Regions from separate parts of the Homo sapiens genome. Here all the other regions are linked to region 2. The links are contacts of gene promoters, found by promoter capture Hi-C in human tissues and cell types (Jung and others, 2019). All regions are on one chromosome and are shown on one strand. Each heading gives the region's core, a stretch centred on a gene start or on the middle of the fragment in contact. The rest is flanking DNA. Distances are from core to core; before and after follow the strand shown.

Region 1 (3,237 bases), core at 1-2,500, 34 kb after region 2:
ATTATAACATCTTATTTCTAACTGATCATAAAATTTAAAAATAGTTGATCATACTTTGTAACAGAATCACAAATTGTATGTTATGAAAAAATTTTGGAACTATAAGGAAAAATACGTTTTAAAACAACTTCATTTGTGTTTTCTCCTAGGTCAGCTGCCTATAATCTTCTGTGTGCCTTAACTTGTACCTTTAATTTAAAAATCGAGGGCCAGTTACTAGAGACATCAGGTTTATGTATCCCTGCCAACAACACCCTCTTTATTGTCTCTATTAGTAAGACACTGGCAGCCAATGAGCCACACCTCACGTTAGAATTTTTGGAAGAGTGTATTTCTGGATTTAGCAAATCTAGTAAGTAATGATAATTTTCTTTAATACTAACAATTATTCTAAGAGAATTCAAAGAAAACCCTTTCATTTCAGAATTTTCCAGTGAAGACTTTCACTTACATTTTTACTTTTTTTCCTCTTCTGATTTTATATCTGTGGTATCCTGTAACTGAAGGAACTCTGAAGGAACTTTTTGGTAGGCCACATTGAGAAATCCACCAAAATTCTGATAATAAAAGCAAAGCGGCAAGAGTTTGGTACTTTACACACCTCTGGACCACTTACAAAGTATTTTCTTCACTGTTGCAGTTTAATTAGCTTCAGCATTTCTCTTCATAGCAGAAAAGTCCACATAAGTATCCATGTTGCCTCCTTAATTTTAGAGAACTAGTCATTTTCTCTTTTCTTTAGGTTGACTTTGAACAATGAATTTATTGTAAATGTACAGTTCACGGAGAGCACAGTGGCACATAATACAGGGCCCAGAGTCAGTTCTGACTTTGTTTTAACTAAGTCTTATAAATTTAATATCCACTCTTTATATTTGTCCATCTTTATATCCTATAGTTTTATAAATGTTGATCTTCTCCCAGCATATTTCCTGACCTTTTCTTCCCTTTCCTTTCCCTGTAATATATAAAACTTTTTTTTCTGCATTCAAACACATTTCTTGACTTTTATATATTAGATAATTAAAAGCTTCAGCAATTCACTAAGACTCTTTGTCAGGTAAGAGATGTAGGACTATAACCCTAACAAAAAAATGTGTAGGACTGACAAAACAAGAAAAGTATAAACTTTATTCATAAATATTAATATGAGAGAAGATTTGAGTGAATGTAAAGGCATATTGTGTTCCTGCATGAACAGTTCTTCCCAGATTATTACAAATTTAATGTAATTTCATCAAAATAACCATGGGATTTGAGGATTGAGAATGGAGATAGAACTTAAATGATTCTAAATTCTACATAAAAGTGCAATAATAGCTAAGAAAATATTGAAAGGAAAGAGACTTGAGACTTAATAGTACAGATGTCTGAACACTTTATAGCAGTACAATAATTAAAACATACATGTGCAAGAATCAGCCATCAGATCAGTTTAAGAGAAACAGATTGATAAAGAAGCATCACAAACTGATGAGGGAGAGATTAAATCATTTAATAAATGAGGCTGGGAAATGACTTAAATTAGGTCTTCGTCTTCACCGTACACCATAAGATACCAAGTATGTTCTGCCTGTATTTAAGAGTTGAGTAGGGCTGTGTGTGGTGGCTCTCGCCTGTAATCCCAGCACTTTGGGAGGTTGAGGCAAGAGGATTGTGGCAGGAGGATTGCTTGAGCCCCAGAGGTCAGGGCTATAGTGAGCTATCATCGTACCACTGCACTCCAGCCTGGATGATAGAGTGAGACCCTTCTCTATTAAAAAAAAAAAAAAAAAAAAAAAAAAAAAAAAAAAGTTGTATATAAAAGCTTGGAACCATTTTAAAAAGAAGAGGAACAAGTGAATATTTAATTGCTTTCTAGATGAGTAAGGACATATGAAGTAAAAAAGTGATAGGATGAAACAAAGGAAATAGCGAACAGATTTGACTACATAAAACTTCAAAACATAGCTACTCAAAAATAAACACAAGTGAAGATAATTAAAAACTAGGAAATACACTTGGAGCAAATATGAGAAATGATTAATATCCTTAATCGGCCAGACGCGGTGGCTCACGCCTGTAATCCCAGCACTTTGGGAGGCTGAGGTGGGTGGATCACAAGGTAAGGAGTTCGAGACCAGCCTGGCCAATATGGTGAAATCCCCTCTCTACTAAAAATACAAAAATTAGCCGGGCTCGGTGGTACATGCCTGTAGTCCCAGCTACTCAGGAGGCTGAGGCAGGAGAATTGCTTGAACCCAGGAGGCAGAGGTTGCAGTGAGCCGAGATCACTCCACTGCACTCCAGCCTGGGCAACAGAGGGAGACTCTGTCTCAAAATAAATAAATGAATGAATAAATGAATGAATGAATGAATAAAATCCTTAATCATGAAGGGTGCTGACCGATTAATAAAAAGTGGATTAACAGTAACATACAGATCATGGTTTTTTTTTTTTTTTTATTATACTCTAAGTTTTAGGGTACATGTGCACATTGTGCAGGTTAGTTACATATGTATACATGTGCCATGCTGGTGCGCTGCACCCACTACTGTGTCATCTAGCATTAGGTATATCTCCCAATGCTATCCCTCCCCCCTCCCCCGACCCCACCACAGTCCCCAGAGTGTGATATTCCCCTTCCTGTGTCCATGTGATCTCATTGTTCAATTCCCACCTATGAGTGAGAATATGCGGTGTTTGGTTTTTTGTTCTTGCGATAGTTTACTGAGAATGATGGTTTCCAATTTCATCCATGTCCCTACAAAGGATATGAACTCATCATTTTTTATGTTTTTTAAAAAAGAATATTTGTACAAAAAAAGAAAAAAGCCAGGCACCATGGCACATGCCTGTAATCCCACCTGCTCAGGAGGATCGCTAAGCCCAGGAGTTTGAGACCAGCCTGGACAACATAGTGAGGCCCCCATCTCAAAAAGAATATTTATATTTTAAGAAATTCACTAATAAAAGCCAATTGAAAGAATAGTGAGATAATCAGTTATCAGCTTGGCAAAGATTTTTTTTTTAAGATCCATTCCTGGTGGTCTGTGGAATTGTGAGTAGAGGCAATTTTTCTAGAAAGGCATTTGGAAGTGGATAACAAGACCTTAAGACTATTCATACCTTTTGGCCTCATAATTCTGCTTTTTAGCATTTATCCTAAAGAATTAATGTTAAAATGTTTATTATAGCATTATTTTTATGTAGATTTTTAAATTGAGGTATATCTTGTCATCAGTAAAGTGCAAGAT
Region 2 (3,215 bases), core at 372-2,871:
TAAGTAAGTAATGTTTTGTTTGTGGTCACATGACCACCTGTTATTGTAAAGGGTTATCTCTTGCAACTGAAAGAGTTGGTCAAAAGATTGGTCTGGAATGAATGTGAACTTATTGTTGTGCAGGTAAAGATGTGTGAGATTTGTCAGGTTTATTAATGTACCTGGAAGAATTTGTGTCAAAGAATTATTAGACAGGTCCACGATATGTAGTTTGGAGGGCATGTTGGTTGGAACTGTCCAAAGTTTGTTACTACTGAGGTTGAGAACCTCGAGACTTCTTAGTGTATTTTTAATGAGGACAACCTTTTCCAGCATGTTCTTAGAAACATCCAGATATTTAAGATTCCACTGATAAGCAGTATCAGATTTGTCAAGAAGTTTAATGTTGTTGTTAGCAGCAGACATGTTCCACAGAGACCGAGGTAAGTGAGCAGGCAGGCTTTCAAGCCTGTTGTTTGAAATGTCCAGGGTCCTCAGATTGGTATATTGGGTTAACTGGTTATGCAGATCAGTAAAGTGGTTATAAGACAGGTTTAAATGTATAATATTCTCTTGCAGTCCAGATGGTAATGTAGACAAGTTTCTGCCTGAACAGTCCACATGCCTGTGCCTCTCTGTGCATATACATTGGAGAGGACAAATGCATAAAATACCAGGTGTGAGAAACAGAAGGATGAACAGGCAGAGAGACATTTTCAATATCTGATATTCCATCAAAGCCTAGAAACAAACAGATACACCCTTCTTTTAATATGCAAATACAGTTTAGGCATCTGCATGGGTCAGTTAGCATTAGGCAAAATTTTCAATAAACCTCGTTGTTGTCGAGTCCTTTTATAATTGTTCCAGTGATTAAACTAACAAAGCTCCCCTTCATTTATAGTCCAAATGCTTAATCCTTCAATTGGGCTATGTGGTAGAGAGAGACTCTCTCCCTACTCTCTCCTGCATTTTCTCCTTTATTTTCTCTCTCCCTCCCCCCTTTTCTAACCATATTCTTTCTTATTTATCTTTCTAGAGCCTTAATATGATAAAATAGCATTCTTTGCAAATAAATAGTTGCAGTTGTAGGCTATTACTATTTTTGATGATATGCTTTCTTACTCAGATGAGAAAAAATGGCTGTCGTGTCTTTTTTTTTTAATCTCTGCAGTAATGTAATTCAATGTGTGTATATAGGGTAGATTTTATTTAGATATTAAAGCAGTTCTTCGAAATTTTATCTGTATGTTTTTAGGATAAATATATCTTTGTAAAAAGCACTTGAAAAATCCAGACCAACACAGTACCTATAAACCTCACATTTTATAAAGTGATTTTTTTCTGTATATTTCAGTGCCCATTTTAAAGGAAAACAATATGTATATTTACAGAGTGACTGAATGTATAAAAAATATCCCTCAACTGACACTGCAGCAAATTTCTGGTGCATGCACTTGCTATTGAATATATATTTAATCCTAACGTTGACTTTTTCTTAAAAGAAAAAGGAAAAAGATTCCAAAGTCAGCCTTTTACTGATTTAAATAACATCTTACCGTGGTGTCGTCTTCAACATCAGCATCTCATTTTCTCTGGGAAACTTAAAGGTCGTCTTGTTCTGTAGAGTCGGAACTGTTTCTGGCTGTGGGCTGTGCTTGCCTGCTCAGCTGCATTGTGTTGCTGTGAGCTGAAGCTCTGCAACCACCTGATCAGTACCACATAGGAGGACTGCAGAGCTGTCGCTGGTGCTGACTCAAATTTATGGCAAGAGGTGCACACGCAACAAAATGGACAATTTTTTAAAAAATTTGTGGCATCAAGCGTACCTATATATCTGATTTGCTATAGGATGGGATACCTTATGCATGAGAGTTGGCCCTTACTCCTTTCTATGTATTTGTCTGAGATTGGGTTCCATATTTTAACATTTGCCTCATTAAGAATCTGTGAATTTTTAAAATACCTCTACTCTTTATCCTTTTTACATGTTGAAAATAAATTTGACCTTCCTCATGGATAGTTTTCTATGATATTAGTCCCACTATTTTTTAACTCCTGCCTTTTTATATTCCTTTCTAAAATTGTATAATTTTCATGTCACTTTTTTAATATTATAAAAAATCTGTTTTATGACTTTTATGTCTTCCCCCAACATGGTGATTATTATGTTTAATCAGCTTTTCAAATTTATCAACCACTTAAGTGTTCCGTCTTCCCTTTTAGGATGTATAGAAGTACTGAAATACGATTATTTTTTCTTTATCTTTCTGATACAATGATCATTTGACCAAGGCTACACACAAGCCAGGATACATTTGGAAATTAGCATCTTATACTTCAGATTATCAGTTCCTATGTAAAATAAACATGTTTTATTTTATATATTTGGAGTTAAAGTTTTTTTTCTTTATGCAACCTTGGGTGGTAAGTGGATATGAGTATTGTTTTTTCCAAAGACATTTTTGGTGCTGTATGAATGACCATTTATTTGATTTTATGTTTTAAGAATAGCAGTATCAATTTAGGTGATTTCAGAGTGTTGCACATTTCATCTTTCTGGGAAAGTAGTTTATAGTTTTAAAATTACATGAAATGATATAAAAGGAAAATTTTTCATCATGAGTTTTATAAAGTGAGATCAGATTTATGATAAATTTTGCTCCACTCTTCAGTGGACTGCTTGTGTAAATCTGTTAAAACACAAATCTGATTTCCAGAATGGCAAGTTTAAAGAAAGCAAATAAAGTTACGGTATTTTCGTTACCAAGTGGCACCATTTAAAAACGAGTAATATTTAGCATGTTATGTGTAAGGAAAGTCTCTTTATGCCTTGTTACTAAATCGTTTGTTTTTCTCTAAATTATATTAGCATTATTTAGATTATACCACAAATAGAATTTGTTGTATTAAAATTTGAAGTTTATTTTCTTACAAGAGAAACTATACTCTAGGAGCCACCTTTTGTATAAAACTAATGTTCCTCGAAAAGTATCTGCATTTTAAGAGTCCGCAACATAGAAGTTTATTGTTGATTGGGTGCTTTATTGCCACTTTACTTTGAGGGTTCAGTTGAACTCTCAATTGGATTCTTACTGTGGATTTAGGAAACCAGCCATCAATCATAGTGCTTAAAATAATGTGTTAAAAATACTACATTCAGCAATATTGTGGAAATAGGGAATGCATTGACATTTAGAGTTCTATTTAAGCTCATATATACACTGCTGCACTTC
Region 3 (3,511 bases), core at 846-3,345, 45 kb before region 2:
ATATGAAACTTAATACAGTGAATATCTTCTCAAGTTTGGGCTGTATTCAGGTTTCTCTTTAAATTTTATTTAGTAATTGTTCTATTGATGAAACTAGGCAGACAGGAAATAGCACATATTAAAAATAGTCTGGGTCAGCTTCTTGGTTGGCCTAGTAGTAACTGGTTTCAGAGAGCAAGTGGGTTTCTAAAATGACAGAGGCTTTGACTTTAGCTGGTTAAAAGTGAATGGGGACTGACTACATGATTACATGGTCTAGGAGATTGTAGTAGAATTTCTTCATGTGGTTGTCATCCTAAAAGAAAAATCTTTTTGTATCATGAGCAAAGTTGGAGACCGTTTTGAGACCATGATTCTAATAATGTAAAAGGAACAGGTCTTAGCACTTATTTAGTACTTAGGAAATATTTAATGAAGAAATAAATTTCCCATCCCTCCCACCTAAGTAAACAAGATTCTTGCCAGCTTTCACAGCTAAGAAAGGAGGAAAATAGTGAAAATAGATTTTTAAACACTATATGTGGTGATTATTAAACAGTATGTTATGCTTTTTAGAGCACTTCACAGTAAAATATCCTATATTATTTTAATAACAAACCTGGTTTATTATGTTAAAATTTCACATAAAATTATTATCTTTAAAAACATGAATTAAAGGTGGTATCAGTGCATTGTTTAAGTATTGGGTAAAAGCATTGTTGAAGAGCAGAGACAGCATGCTGTGTTGTTATTAAATAAGGCTTTATTTTTTAATTAGTAACTGGTAACAGGGAATGTTACATTTACTGATTAGAAAGAAAGATAGGAAAAAAGCTTTGGTCTCAAGATAGTATTTTATTGAGTCTGCTTCCCAAACCTAGTTTATTTCTTTTGGTTTGCTCTTTTGTTTTTATTCATCTTCCCTCTTCTGGCTTTTTCTTGCCCCTTTGCCTTTGGCAGTAACAGAAAGGTACCTTCCTGCTCTTCTGTGTTCTGCCTGGAGGGATAGTAGTCCCTTTGGGACCTACTGGGGAAATGTTGAAAGGGAAGTGAGTATATTGCTAGCTAATAAACTTCCCTGGACTTTAGCTCCTTTTTTGAGTTCATATCTTGGCCTTTAAGCCTTTTCAAATCATGTGTTAACCAGCTCTATTACTTTATATACCTTCCTTCCTTAGTTGACTGGATTAAGGTTATTTAAGAATAGCCAACTGTGAACATGTGTCAGATTTATAATTAAATCATTTTCTCATGTGTTGTTTTCACTTCTCCTGATGGTTTTAGGATAAAGATAAAATGATTCCCAAAGTGGATATTCTCGTATGGTGAGAGAATTCTAAGAACTAATTTATGATTCTAAATAAATCTCACCCTTTTTCAGTAAATCTGCTTCTCCAAACTGAAGTAGTTTACACACAGTTTTAAGGCTATAAATGATAGTTATATACCACTGTTACTAATACATTTGTATATAGTCTAAAGTTTGAAACAAAGCTCTGTGAGCTAAGGGGCTGTGTCTTGTTGTTTTACTGCTATTTCCCAATGCCTAGAATGGTATTTGACCTGTAGGTACACAGTAACTCTTTGGATGGATGAATGGGTGGGTGGATGAATGGATGTCTAACTAACTTAAAGCCCAAGTTATGGGTTATGGTGTTGGATGTCCAGAATTCCCAGAATAAGATGCCATCTATTTGTGGATTAAATAATTCTAACATGGTTTTAAAAATATTTTTAAAATAATTATTCTGCCTAGGCTAGTCCAATCAAGAGTCTTTTAATTTTGAAAGAAATCTTTGGTCTAGAAAGAGCTCTGAGAGATGAAACCAATATGTGCCTGGAGTTTTGGGGGTTTTTTAGGTGGCTTTTTTTTTTTTTTTTTTTAAGATATTTTGATAAATGGTCAACTGTAATATGTGAAAAGTTTTAAGCAGGCCTACAGTTTTGTTCTGTAATTTTCTCTGCAGTTTCTTCACTTTAATAATATTAATGCTTCTTACTAGTTGAGCTGATAACCTTCTTCTCCCAAATGTTGCAGAGCTTTTAACCTCCTCTGATTAGAACCATTTCAGGAAGTAGCCTGCAAACATTGAAAAATATGTGAAATGTTAAGAGTAATCTTTTTTAGAGAGAGAGGTCTTTAATTCAGAATTTCTAAAGTGAATTTTTATATTTATCCATATAATTTTTATTTCTTTATTCAGTAGGATCATAATTAAATGCCAGGTGTTGGAAAAAGAACTTAAAGTCAATTGAAGGATACACAGAGAAGAATTTTACATACCAAGAAAAAATTATGTAGACACAAATGTTTTTAGTGTGTGATCTACTTGTAATGAATATTTTATATTACATTTCTCAAAAGCTAGGAATTAACCAAAATGTAAATATTTAATATCCTCAAATTCACTTGGAGAGAGTTTTTCTGTGATTCATAGCCAGAAATAGTAGACATGATTGGGTCTCAACATTTCTTGCTGTTTTAGTGCTTGGCTTAAAAATGTAATAAAAATTAAAACCCAGAATTAAAATTCATTCCTCAAAATTCAGTTGATTTCTAATTTTTTGTTGATTCCATTTGTGTTACATTTTATGGTGTAATTTTATGTACAAGCCAACATTGTTTTTGTTGCTGTATGTAGTCGGTGCTGTGACTTGTTTGTGCTCATCTCTGTTCTGTAGGCAACTTGCCACTCCCTACTGAATAAAGCTACAGTAAAAGAAAAAAAGGAAAACAAAAAATCAGTAAGTTTGGAGAACTTTTTATTAGCTGTTTCTTTCAAAGCAAAACAAAAATCTTTTGCTGTTTGTTAAGAATATCTTCACTTCAGCCTATTTGACCTTCACTGTAAAATCATTCTACTAATTCTGGCACAAAATAGCTTTCATTTCAATTAACCCTGGAATTAAGTTACATTGAAACATTCTCTGTGTTCCTTTGGTTTGATTTATCCCAAAGGCAATTTGTGGGCATTTGTTGCATTGGATATCCTTGGTCTAATTTTATTATTGTTACTTTTTAAATTATAAATGAATGCAAAGAAACTTAATTTCAAGGCCTTAGGAAACGCTGACTGTCTTCATTCTTGCTTCTTGTTTGAAGGTAATGTGAGTGGTTTCTTTTCCCAGAGATGACAGTGTTTCTTAATTGTTAGAAGTATATGGTGGGAAAGAGTCACTTTCTAAATCTTACCTAAAAGTTGCTAAATTTTATTTTTTTACTCTTCATATTTTTATCTAGGCAGTCTCAGGCATAATTTAGATATTTGTGCATAGATTATAGAAATTTTAATGGTAAAACTACTTTTACCTCAAAAAAATAAGAGGTAAATGATAAGATAGTACTTTTGAGATAAAAGAAAACTGAGTTCATATTTGTAGAAAAACACATCATTCTGCAAACATAATGTGAATATACTATCTGCTTCTATGAACTTGCCTTGATTTATTTAAAAGGAAGAAAATTATGAGAGTCGTAATTATTTTCTTCCAGTGAATGGAATTTGTCCAAAATATAATATGCATTCATTTT

Evidence for each region. Contacts are between HindIII fragments. The study calls those that stand out against the background at their distance.
Region 1: a fragment that was not itself captured here is called in contact with the fragment with the promoter of OMG in region 2 in 1 of the 25 tissues and cell types used here (mesendoderm cells).
Region 3: a fragment that was not itself captured here is called in contact with the fragment with the promoter of OMG in region 2 in 2 of the 25 tissues and cell types used here (hippocampus and mesenchymal stem cells).

The regions. Positions count from the first base shown.
Region 1 is chr17:31,330,147-31,333,383 of GRCh38, forward strand. It overlaps NF1 (neurofibromin 1), which reads left to right. Exons shown (of 58, transcript NM_001042492.3): 39 at 150-352. Among named protein-coding and RNA genes, the nearest start is that of EVI2A, 10 kb to the left of the region's middle. The HindIII fragment of the contact is 3,100 bases long and covers 1-2,800 here.
Region 2 is chr17:31,295,618-31,298,832 of GRCh38, forward strand. It overlaps OMG (oligodendrocyte myelin glycoprotein), which reads right to left and starts at 1,622. Exons shown (of 2, transcript NM_002544.5): 1 at 1,539-1,622; 2 at 1-720. The coding sequence starts at 714. All of the region lies in intron 36 of NF1 (neurofibromin 1), which reads left to right. The HindIII fragment of the contact is 15,224 bases long and covers 1-3,215 here.
Region 3 is chr17:31,250,277-31,253,787 of GRCh38, forward strand. NF1 (neurofibromin 1) reads left to right here. Exons shown (of 58, transcript NM_001042492.3): 31 at 2,662-2,724. Among named protein-coding and RNA genes, the nearest start is that of OMG, 45 kb to the right of the region's middle. The HindIII fragment of the contact is 3,539 bases long and covers 327-3,511 here.